Regions from separate parts of the Homo sapiens genome. Here regions 1 and 3 are each linked to region 2. The links are contacts of gene promoters, found by promoter capture Hi-C in blood cells and fetal thymus (Javierre and others, 2016). All regions are on one chromosome and are shown on one strand. The core of a region is centred on a gene start or on the middle of the fragment in contact, and the rest is flanking DNA. Distances in the headings are between cores, read along the strand shown. Region 1 holds the start of PCK1 (phosphoenolpyruvate carboxykinase 1). Region 2 holds the start of RAE1 (ribonucleic acid export 1). Region 3 holds the start of CTCFL (CCCTC-binding factor like).

Region 1 (4,127 bases), core at 900-3,399, 210 kb after region 2:
CCCGAGGGCATCATCTGCCAAGACCTAAGGCAACTGTACCCATACTTTTGCCTGTGTGTCCTCAAAACCCCTCTACTTTATCATGATTCTTCTTCCAGAGAACTCTGTCCTTTGAGGCAAGTCTGTAAACCAATGTTTGCTTTTTAACATTTTGACAAGGGACAGTTGCGGGGGAATCATTACCGTCCTTCCACGCTGTAAATGCAGGTAATGAAAGGATCGGATGAAGGTCGTTGGTGACTCACTGCTCTGACGTTTTACTTGAACTAGCTGTTTCTCTCCCAGAAGACTCAGAACATAAGCACCTGGAATGGATGGGTCGCATTTAGGACTCCAAATGAGTTCTGCTTTCCCTTTTTGTTTTCAATCTATGTGCTCTTTCAGGTACTCAAACCTGTTACCGTTTTATCAGCAAAATGGGACTTTCTACCAATTTGGTGGGATGAGTCTCGCCGGGAGTGATGTGTGTGTCACGGAATTGTGGTCATGCATCGGGATGGCTAATTCACTGATGTCAGATGCTAACGAAGTGGCCTCGGCTACTGAGCATCACGTCACTGTTGGGTTTAGACACAACACGATCTTATGTATGGATGACAGCACCACTAATAACAAATGCCAGTGACCTAAACGGGGAATAACTTCAAATGAAACAAAAAGCACCTCATATCATATTTATCCTGAAAGACACAACTGGCTGAATAAAATCTGAATACAGGAAACATAGCAATGGGTTGATAATTTTGGTGGAACTTGATGATGTGTGACCCACGCCCAACACAGTGTGACCCAAGCCCCCAGGAGGGTTCTCTAAGTGAGTTTGGTCGGAGGCTGCCATTCACAGTGACTTGTATTTGCCACAGCAGCTCTTTCTAAGCCCAGTCCTGGGATTATCTCAGGGATCATCCCACACCCCAGCGGGGAGATGGGCCAAGTCCCCACCTGACCTCATCTTAGGTAGAGAGGCTTCCATGGAAGTGTGGGCTGGCTGTGGGGGGTTGAGACCTAGCCCCGTTCTTTTGACATTTCACCCTGTGTTCTCCAAACTCCAGCAAGCAGCTTCCATAGCTCATTAAATTTGACTGAAGGTCTGATGGCTTGCAAAGCAAATTCTTTACAACTGTTATAAAGGTTTCATTGCTTAAGCATATAATCTAGCAAAACTGCCAAGCCCCCTCCACTCCCTAAACTCTAAGACTTGCCAGGGAAGAGAACAGTGGCCAGTGGACTGCAGGAGTAACTGCACTCAGCCCAGAACTCCCTGGAGGACACAGGGAAGGTTCTGGAAAGGTGGCGGTACCTCACAGGGAGAGACGTGGTGCTCCAGGGCCCAACTTGCTCATGTTCAGATCCTCACTCTGCAACCCACCAGCCGGCTGTGAGTGGCTACACAATCTCTGCCTCAGTTTCCCTATCTGTACATGGGTTGTTCATAGCCTCCACCTCAGAGGGTAGTAATGATGCCAAGCTCTTAGAACAGTGCTCAGCATGTGTGCATCCTGTGCCTACTCTATGCCAAGCACTACAGAGAGAAAAATGAACAAAATAGGGAGAAATCCCTGCCCTCATGGAGTTTACATCGGGGCAGGGGGCGGGGGCGGCACAGAGCAGACAATCAATACAGTGATTAGCCCCCAGTTAGGTTAGGCATTTCCAATCTTTGCCAATAAGCCACATATTTGCCCAAGTTAGGGTGCATCCTTCCCATGAACTTTGACTGTGACCTTTGACTATGGGGTGACATCTTATAGCTGTGGTGTTTTGCCAACCAGCAGCTCTTGGTACACAAAATGTGCTGCTAGCAGGTGCCCCGGCCAACCTTGTCCTTGACCCACCTGCCTGTTAAGAAAAGGGTGTTGTGTTTTGCAACAGCAGTAAAATGGGTCAAGGTTTAGTCAGTTGGAAGTTGTGTCAAAACTCACTATGGTTGGTTGAGGGCTCGAAGTCTCCCAGCATTCATTAACAACTATCTGTTCAATGATTATCTCCCTGGGGCGTGTTGCAGTGAGTTGGCCCAAAGCATAACTGACCCTGGCCGTGATCCAGAGACCTGCCCCCTGACGTCAGTGGCGAGCCTCCCTGGGTGCAGCTGAGGGGCAGGGCTATTCTTTTCCACAGTATTTAAAGCTGGGAGGTTCTGCCACCAAGCACGGCCTTCCCACTGGGAACACAAACTTGCTGGCGGGAAGAGCCCGGAAAGAAACCTGTGGATCTCCCTTCGAGATCATCCAAAGAGAAGAAAGGTAAGTAGAGCTTTGCATTTACATTTTGAAAAATTACAAAGATGAACTCATTTTTTTCCTGAGAGCAATAACTATTTGGCAATGCACAGCCCTGGCAAAAGGCCGTCGAATGTGTTTGAAGGTGTCTGTTGTTGTTTTTGTTCAGGACGCTTGCGTTTTCTATTTCAGGTGACCTCACATTCGTGCCCCTTAGCAGCACTCTGCAGAAATGCCTCCTCAGCTGCAAAACGGCCTGAACCTCTCGGCCAAAGTTGTCCAGGGAAGCCTGGACAGCCTACCCCAGGCAGTGAGGGAGTTTCTCGAGAATAACGCTGAGCTGTGTCAGCCTGATCACATCCACATCTGTGACGGCTCTGAGGAGGAGAATGGGCGGCTTCTGGGCCAGATGGAGGAAGAGGGCATCCTCAGGCGGCTGAAGAAGTATGACAACTGGTAAGCTCGGCCCCCGCTGCCTGTCCCAGCACCCTGCAGGCAGGGCTCCCCTGCGTCTCCTGGGAGTTGGTGGAGAAAGGTGAATGAAGGCCTTCGGGTAGTTTCAGACTCTTGAGAAGATGAATGCAATGGTCAGAACCATACAGACTTGAATTTTGTGACATTAGTGGGCCAGCCCAAGCTTTAAATGAGGTGTGTGCACAAAAGCTCTGCCAACTAGATTCCTGATTAAAAAAAAGGCAGCCCCTCTCCTACAGACCAGGTCCTAGTGGAGTAAATGTCCACCTGGCCATGTCTTAGATGGTCTGTGTGTTCACACTGATGGACTGTTGTTAGCGTGCTCAGCACTCTGCTAGGCATGGAAAGCCACGGTACTGAAGGAGATGGTTCGCTGCCCGTGGTGCTTGGCTGAAAGGAAGCCTGTGATTTTTGCAGCTGGTTGGCTCTCACTGACCCCAGGGATGTGGCCAGGATCGAAAGCAAGACGGTTATCGTCACCCAAGAGCAAAGAGACACAGTGCCCATCCCCAAAACAGGCCTCAGCCAGCTCGGTCGCTGGATGTCAGAGGAGGATTTTGAGAAAGCGTTCAATGCCAGGTTCCCAGGGTGCATGAAAGGTGAGCGGAACATTGATTTGATTGGGTAAAACAGCAGAGAGCCTTTTCTTATTTACATCTATCCTAATGGTAATTCAAACAATAATGGAAGCTCCCACCACCTCAGATGTCTTTCAGTTCCATACATGAAGTTGGCAATGTATTGAAAATGCACATCCCTCTTCTGCTTTTACAGACTGTCTTATACAAACGTGAAAACTAGTTCCATGCATATGGGTTTTAAATAGCTTGGTGGGACCCAATTGCACATTTATGAAAACTCTTTAATTTCAGCAGGCTGTTCACTTTCCAGTGGCCTCTTCTAACCCAGGGGGCTGGTGACCAGCAGGGTGTGGTGGTGTTAGTGGAACACCGTGAAAATGGGTCTACCTGGGAAAAAAATGCTGGTCGTGTTCGAAGTCCAAGGTCATTTCTCACCAGTGCCCACCCATCGCACCCTGTAGGTCGCACCATGTACGTCATCCCATTCAGCATGGGGCCGCTGGGCTCGCCTCTGTCAAAGATCGGCATCGAGCTGACGGATTCACCCTACGTGGTGGCCAGCATGCGGATCATGACGCGGATGGGCACGCCCGTCCTGGAAGCAGTGGGCGATGGGGAGTTTGTCAAATGCCTCCATTCTGTGGGGTGCCCTCTGCCTTTACAAAGTAAGTGTATTATTTCAGAATCAAAAGTCAAAATAAAAAAGAAAGCTGAACGCAAACCCCAGTGAGTGCCTCGGGGACCCCCAAGCAGGGCCCTGGCGCACTGACTTGGGAGGGGTCCTTGTTCACAGAGCCTTTGGTCAACAACTGGCCCTGCAACCCGGAGCTGACGCTCATCGCCCACCTGCCTG
Region 2 (4,059 bases), core at 803-3,302:
GGATGTGGGTGGGGCCAGATAAGAGAATAAAAGCAGGCTGCCGGAGCTAGTAGTGGCAATCTGCTCGGGGCACCTTCCACGGTGTGGGAGGTTTGTTCTTTCGCTTTTTGGGACCACGTCGTCTTTATGAGCTGTAACACTCACCGCAAAGGTCTGCAGCTTTACTCCTGAAGCCAGCGAGACCACGAGCCCGCCGGGAGGAAGGAACAACTCCAGATGCGTCGCCTTAAGAGCTGTAACACTCACTGCCCGAAGGTCTGCAGCTTCGCTTCTGAGCCAGCGAGGCCATAAACCACCAGAAGGAAGAAACTCCAAACACATCTTAACATCAGAAGGAACAGACTCCGGATGCGCTGCTTTTAAGAACTGTAACACTCACCGCGAGGCTCCGCAGCTTCATTCTTGAAGTCAGTGAGACCAAGAACCCACCAATTCCGGACACAACATCACCTCTGTCAGCTTCATTTTCCATATCTATAAAATGGAGATAATCACAATACCTATCTTTTAGGGCTGGTCTGGAAACTACAGGAGATGGAGCATCTAAAGCGCTTAGCATAGGGTGATGCTCAAAAGAGCTATTATTACCATCATCGTCTAGACTAGAGGTTCTCAGTCTTGGCTGCATCTTAGAATCACCTGGGGAGCTTTTAAAAAATATTAATTTCCTCTTTTCTAGCCCAGGCGTACTAAATCAGAATCTCTAAGGGTGCAGTGTAAACATCACAGTTTTTAAAAAGCTGCCCAGGATTCCAAATGATCTACAGCCTTGGTACTTAACTCTGGTTCACGGCCCAGCAACCTCTGCTGGGAATTTGGTAGAAATGTGGATTTTTAGGCCCATCGTAGACCTACTGAATCTGCATTTTATAAAAAGATACCCCAGATCCTAAACCTCCTTAAGAAGGTCAAGGCACGCAGACCACACTGAGTAGTGAAGGAGAGAATCCAGGGTAGCTACATAACCTCACGAAATCCCTTCCTTGTGATCTGTCTTTTCCTTCACTTCCTTCTTCAGATGCTCCTAAAAGTAGGGGTTGGGAGGAAACAACCAACTGAAATATTTGGAGTGGGCGTGTGTGAGTAATAAGAATCCCTTAACATTTCTACAGACAGTTCTATTAGTAAGAGTAGTTCACGTATGATTTCACTTGACCCTAATTAGGAACAGCCCTGGCATCATTTTCCCCACCATGCAGCAGGAAACTGAGGCCCAAAGAGCCCCGAGGTGGGCTCAGGGTACCCCAGTGGGCAAACAGGGAGAGGCCAGGGCGGGAAACCCGCGGCCGACCTCGCCTTGTTCGGAGGCAGCGTTAGAGCAGCTTCTCGGAGGTTGGCCTTGGACGTGAATTGGAAGCAATCAGAATCTTTTAGATGTTTATACATGATAAATGCAATAATTAATTCACAAGAGAAAACAGCTAGCTACCTTGCACTAGCCCTAGTTGCGGATTGATTGACTGATTTGAGATGGAGTTTCGCTCTTGTTGTCCAGACTGGAGTGCAATGGCATGGTCTCGGCTCACTGCAACCTCCACCTCCTGGGTTCAAGCGATTCTCCTGCCTTAGCCTCCCAAGCAGCTGGGATTACAGGCACCCGCCACCATGCCCGGCTAATTTTTGTATTTTTAGTACTGACGGGGGGACGGGGGGGCGGGGGGGCGGGGGGACGGGGGGCGGGGGGGGCGGGGGGGGCGGGGGGACGGGGGCGGGGGGCGGGGGGGGGCGGCGCGGGGGGGCGGGGGGGGCGGGGGGCGGGGCGGTTCACGATGTTGGCCAGACTTGTCTTGAACTCCTGACCCCAGGTGATCAGCCCGCCTCGGCCTCCCAAAGTGCTGGGATTACAGGCGTGAGCCACCGCGCCTGGCCAGTTGCGGATTTATAAAAGCAGTCGCTTAGTAACTTGCAGCGGCTACATCAACTTTGGACCAATTCGCAAACTGCTGGTGTAAAGCGTTTTTGCGCATGTGCTGTCGCCTTGCGGGAAAAGGAGCCTTTTTCTTCGACGATTTCCGGGCGACGCAGGAAGTGGCTCCAGGGCGCACGCGCGTTGTTTCCGCGGTAGTCAGGGCAGTTTCTACCGCAGGCTTAAGGAGGCTTCGGGCTCCTGGGATTTCTGTCCGCGCTCCTGGCCCTCGTCCTTCGCGCCAGAGCAGGTTCGCAAACTCCTCAGACCCTTCTGCTCCCGGCCGCCGCTTTCCGCCGGGGCGAGACCCCCAGGTAGGCCCCGTGCCGCGCGCGTCCCGTCGTTAACCGCCGCCATGGCTCCCGCAGAGGCCGAGTTGCCTCCCGGGAGCGCGCTTCTGCGGGATGCTGGGGCGCGAGCGGGACTGTTGACTAAGCTTCGTTACTGGGCCCTGGAAGCGAGGTCAGAGCTGGAAATGGCCTTAGGGGTCACCTAGGGCCTAATCCATCGTTTCTCTTGTGGGGGAACTGAGCCTCTGGGAAGGGTCACATTGCGTTAATGCAGTGTGTGTCGCCTCTGTCCCTCCCCCTTACACGTCTGGCGTCTCGTCAGATACATGTCAGCTCCTGGGAGAAGCTTTCCCTGGCCGCTTTGCAGAAGGGCGTCCCCTTTTAGCCTCTTCCACGTCAACCTGCTCCATTTCTTTCGTAGCAGTTACCAGTCTCTGAAACTAAGTCTGTTTCTGTCTTAGCCCGCCAAGTATTTATTGTATACGTATATAGGTGCCACCGTACAGGCAGTACTTCTCCAGGCAAGTAGTATTAAACACCAGCCGCCCTGGGCCAGGCATTGTACTGTGGGACCCAGTATGCATTAAGGGAAGAATCCAGGCAAGTGGCTGCCCTCTTGGAGCCAGCATTCTGGGGGGGAAGAGATTTTGAGTGTAAACAAGAAATTCCAGGGGATGTGATGGAAGATTAGATATGTTAAAGTTGGCAAAGAAGCGTCTGAGGAGGTGACTTTAAAAAAGAATACGTGTGACAGCTTTATTGAAGTATAAAATAACATTAATTTCAACCATTGAAAGTGTATATTGTGAGTTTGGAAATTTTATGCAGTTGCGTAAACATGGCAAGTTCAAATTTGGGACATTTTCATCACCCCAAGAAGTTCGGAGGAGGCAACTTTTGAACTGGGATATGAAGATTCAAACGGAGGTAGCTGTGGGGAGGGAGAAGCAAATCATCCCAAGCTGAAGGAACAGCACTAGGTTTGCTCCAAGGCAGGGATGAGCTTGTTGTGTTCAGCGGAGAAAGGAAGCCAGCAGAGCTAGGAGGGCTGGGGTGCAGCAAGGCGGGAGAGAGCGGGAAGAGATTAGGTGGGTCCCACAGATGACTGTGCCTTCTGAACTTTGGAAGCTTCCCAGTGCTCAGCATAAGGTGTGGTCCACACTGACTAACACGAACGATTCTCACCTACCATGTTCTTTTTCCTAAGTTCATCCCTAATGGCAGAAATGTTCTCTCCCAACTTGAAGGTTGAGGTAGAGGAATAGAGTGAAAGTAATATTTATTAAGAACCTGTAGTGCTTTAGGCAGTGTGTGTGTGTGGCTTCATTTAGTTCTCATAACTCTGTGAAGTAGATATTAGTGTCTCTGTTTTACAGATGAGAAAATCAAGGTTAAGTGACCCGTCCAAAGCCGTGTAACCAGCACCTGGACTGATTGCAGAAGCCTTGTCATGCCTTTGTTCGTTCATACAGCCAACTGGTGTTTCAAGTACCTCTGCATTTGAGGGCAGAAGTGTGGCCGGCAAGGACCACATCCCCTCACGTTCACTAAAATGTACATGTGCTTGTAGCTGTTGCTCTGACCTTTTGTTCTGCACTTATTTTTCATGAAGCTGAGGAAACTCAAATGCCTTCCCCAAATTCCTTGCAGTTTCTCCGTTCTGTGTTGTCTTGTTAGCAAGGATGTCACTCAGCCATTTGGCTCCCTTTGGAGAGGTGACTGGTATGGAGGACTTTTCAGCGTAACAGGTAGTAGGATTGAAATGTGGTTTCAGTGTACGTAACTCCTCGGGGAGTTGGAAGGAAAAAAGAAGGGAAAAGTCGTTTATTGTACCCACTATGAACTAGATACTGCATTTTCTAC
Region 3 (3,836 bases), core at 895-3,394, 170 kb after region 2:
CCATCACCTGCCCATAAAGAAAAACAGCAGCCCAGTTTTAGGGAGTGTATTCTATGAGATGAACTGGCCTACCCTTTGTCTTTCTTTGATTTTTTGTAGATTTGGCCTTTTCAGCATCTGCTTGACCAGCTGTAGGTTGATCCTCTTGTTCTTCCACATTTGAATTTGAAACTGTGAGAACAATTTCGTCACTTCTTTCATCTCCTGACATTGTTTCCACAAAAAAGAGCTGCTCCTTTGTTCTTTCAGCCAATAACTGGTTCTTCTCCTGCTCTTCCTCGAGCTAATAAACAACAAATATTCAAATATGATACTATTGATTTCAGTATAATTAGACTTTTGCCTGGATGAAGCACAGAATACAAAAAGAAAAGCCAAAGTGGAAGATTATGCATCACAATGTTAATTATTTCGCATCAGGGTTGTGGCAGTGAAACTTAACACTTTTTTTTAAAACATAATGCGCCTTACACTATTCCAATTAGCACCACTTTTAAAACTCTTTTTTAAAAAAGAACCTAAGAACTCTCAAGATTTTCCTGGGAAGTATTTGTACTGTCTTTAATTTGCAACTGCAAAATACCTTGTCCAGACATAATATTGCATAAAAGCCGACTTGAATTTTTTCTTTTTCATGTAAGGGGTTGTTTATTAAAACCAGCTGTACCTTGATCAGTCCAGTAGTTTCAGCCAGGCTCACCGCTAACTTACTGTCTTCACTGGCCACCATCACATTCTCCTCTAGAGCGTGGAACTGCAACACCTCCATCTCTTGCGGGGAGTACAGCTCTTGCTGGATACTAATGGCCACACACTGCTGCAGGCTCTGCCGGGGCCCTTCCTCAAGCCACAGCAACCCAGGGCCAGGCTGTTGCACCACCACCTGCACCCCTTCTTGCTGCTGTATGCTCAGCAAGCTCATATCCTGCAACTCCACAGCTTCAGAAGTGAAGTGCACCGTCTGCAGGGTCAGGATGTACTTCTCGCTCTCCTCCGAGGGGGCCAGCACCAGCTCCACTTCTTCCTCCAGGACGCTGTCCTGGAAGGCCCCAGAGGTACGCTCGGCCTCCAACTCACTAGGGCTCCGATGGTCTTTCTCTCTGCACACTCCGTCTTTTTCCTCCTCCTTCAGGCCTTTTTCCGGCATCAACTCGAGTTCTTTGATCTTGGTGAATTGCTCAGAAAGGACAGAGATCTCAGTGGCTGCCATAATGACTTGGCCTGTTTGAAAAATAAGCAAGCGGTTTCCATAGGGGGGAGAAGGGGGTGGTATGAGGAGGGATGCGGGGGGTGCTGGAACCTAGCAGGCTTTGGAGTTGAAACAAGGTCTGGCCTCAAAAGGTTTTGGACTTAGTAGGGTCAGAACAATGCTGATCTGGCTTGGGTCTAGGAGGGGGTCAAGGCTAAGCAGGATTTAGGCTAAAGCAGGATTTTGTACAAAACCCTAGAACGAACAGGTTTGGGCCTCAGCAGGCTTAGGGCCAGCACACATCCTGCGCCTGGCAAGGTTCCGCCTGAGCACACTCTGGCCCAGTGCATATCCTGGGCCTAGCAAGGTTAGGCCTGAGCCGGTTCAGTCAGTGAACATCCTGGGCCTAGTAAGGTTTGGGCCCAGCAGGCTCTCGGCCAGTGCATATCCTGGGCCTAGCAAGTTTCAGGTCCAAGCAGGCCCCGGGCCAGTGCACACCCGGCGCCCAGCGAGGTTCGGGCCCGAGCAGGCATTCCCCTCGTGCACGGTTCTAGACCTAGCACCCTCAGAGCCAGGCAGGCTTTGGGCCTAGTGGCCTCGAGCCCACCCAGACTTGGCCAAGCAGCCCTCGGCCAGACCAAGCACACTCCCTCGGAGGCCTGGCAGGGCCCCTGCTTTACCCTGCCCCCCACGCCCCGCCCCGACCCGACCCTCCCAGGCAGCCCCTCAGCGTCTGCCGCCCGCCCTTGGGCCTTTCCGGCCAGCCCCTCCCTCCGCCCACGCCCAGAACAGCCCATGCTCTTGGAGGAGAGCAGGTGGGCTTGACCGGGACTGGCCCCTCACCGCGGAAGGCGTGGCCGGAATGCTCGGCCCACTCCGTCTTTGGCTTGTGGGCTCTGCCTCGTGCACCGCGTGCTGCAGCCCACAGCCGGCCGCCGCCGGGCTGGCGCGAGAGTGGAGGGTGGCAGTGCGCAGGCGCGGAGCGGAAAAGAGGGGGCGTGAAGGGGGCGGAGCCAGGCAGGGTTGGGGGAGGGGGTGATGTACTGTGGGGGCAGGGGGGAAGGGGAGTAGGGAGGGGGAGGGGGAGCACGGATGAGGAGGACCCCAGAGGGGGCACTGGTGGACCTGGGGGGGTGGATGAGGAGGGGAGGAGGGTCCCATACAGGGCACTGGGAGACCTGGGGTGGGGGTGGATAAGGAGAGGAGGAGAGCCTGCAGGGCACTGGAAGACTGGGTAGTGGGGGAGCGCCTAAGGAGGGGAGGAGGGTCCTGCAGGGGCACGGAAATACCTTGGGGTTGAAGTGGATGAGGAAGGGAGGAGGGCCCCGCAGGGGGCGCTGGGAGACCCGGGGGGGAAGTAAGGAGGGCACGAGGGCCTGCAGGGGGCCTGGGAGATCTGAGGGGGAATGGATAAGGAGGGGAGGAGGGCCCACAGGAGGCACTGAGATACTGGGGGGAGGGGTGGAATGAGGGGGGGAGGGGTGGAATGAGGCGGGGAGGATAGCCCTGCAGGGGGGCTGGGAGACCTGAGGGGGGTGGTGGGTAATGGATAAGGAGGGGAGGGGGGCCTGCAGGGGGCCTGTGACACCTAGGGGAGGGGAATGGATAAGGAGGGTAGGAGGGCCAACAGGAGGCACTGAGATACCAGGGGGAGGGGTGGAATGAGGAGGGGAGAGCCCTGCAGGGGGGCGGGGAGACCTGAGGTGAGGGTAATGGATAAGGAGGGGAGGAGGGTCTGCAGGGGTTCTTGGGAGACCTGGGGGATGAATAGGAGAGGACAAGGGGAGGAGGGTCTGCAGGGGGCCCTGGGAGCCCTGCGGGGGGCGAGGGGTGGGGGAATGGATAAGGAGGGGAGGAGGGCCTGCAAGGGGTGCTGGGAGACTTGGGGGAGGGGAATGGATAAGGAGGGGAGGAGGGCCTGCAAGGGGTGCTGGGAGACCTGGGGGAGGGGAATGGATAAGGAGAGGAGGAGGGCCCGCAGGAGGCACTGAGAGACTGGGGGGAGGGGTGGAATGAGGAGGGGAGGAGAGCCCTGCAGGGGGCGCTGGGATACCTTGTGGGGGAATGGATAAGGAGGGGAGGGGGTCCTGCAGGGGGCGCTGGGAGACCTAGGGGAGGGGAATGGATAAGGGTGGGAGGAGGGCCCGCAGGAGGCACTGAGATACTGGGGGGAGGGGTGGAATGAGGAGGGGAGGAGAGCCCTGTAGGGGGCGCTGGGAGACCTTGGGGGGAATGGATAAGGAGGGGAAGAGGGCCCTCAGGGGGCGCTGGGAGACCTGGGGGGGAAATGGATAAGGAGGGGAGGATGGCCGCAAGGGGCACTGGGAGACGCTGGCGGGGAATGGATAAGGAGTGGAGGGGGGCCTGCAAGGGGCGCTGGGAGACCTGGAGGGGAAAGGATAAGGAGGGAGGAGGGCCTGGAGAGGGCGCTGGGAGACTTGGGCGGGGGTGGAGGGAATGGATAAGGAGGGGAGAAGGGCCTGCAGGGGGCACTGAGACCTGGTGGGGAATGGATAAGGAGGGAGGAGGGCCTGCAGGGGGCGCTGGGGAACCTGGGGGGCTTGGATAAGAAGGGGAGGAGGGCCTGCAGGGGGCGCTGGGAGACCTAGGCGGGGCAGGGGTGGGGAATGGGTAAGGAGGGAAGAAG

What was found. The method cuts DNA at HindIII sites, captures the fragments that hold promoters and counts their contacts. A CHiCAGO score of 5 or more calls a contact.
Region 1: a contact is called between the fragment with the promoter of PCK1 here and the fragment with the promoter of RAE1 in region 2, in 2 of 17 cell types (erythroblasts and neutrophils). The highest score is 12.4, in erythroblasts.
Region 3: the fragment with the promoter of CTCFL here is called in contact with the fragment with the promoter of RAE1 in region 2 in 11 of 17 cell types (naive B cells, naive CD8 T cells, non-activated CD4 T cells and 8 more); the score reaches 12.0 in naive B cells.

What each region holds. Positions count from the first base shown.
Region 1 is chr20:57,558,961-57,563,087 of GRCh38, forward strand. PCK1 (phosphoenolpyruvate carboxykinase 1) reads left to right here and starts at 2,150. Exons shown (of 10, transcript NM_002591.4): 1 at 2,150-2,243; 2 at 2,412-2,675; 3 at 3,111-3,292; 4 at 3,736-3,939; 5 at 4,068-4,127. The coding sequence starts at 2,452. The HindIII fragment of the contact is 6,047 bases long and covers 1-2,854 here.
Region 2 is chr20:57,349,203-57,353,261 of GRCh38, forward strand. RAE1 (ribonucleic acid export 1) reads left to right here and starts at 2,053. Exons shown (of 12, transcript NM_003610.4): 1 at 2,053-2,220. RefSeq lists enhancers at 1,684-2,252, 2,443-2,522. The HindIII fragment of the contact is 3,413 bases long and covers 1-2,340 here.
Region 3 is chr20:57,522,996-57,526,831 of GRCh38, forward strand. It overlaps CTCFL (CCCTC-binding factor like), which reads right to left and starts at 2,145. Exons shown (of 11, transcript NM_001386993.1): 1 at 2,033-2,145; 2 at 668-1,221; 3 at 73-283. The coding sequence starts at 1,210. RefSeq lists an enhancer at 336-1,274. The HindIII fragment of the contact is 10,995 bases long and covers 1-3,836 here.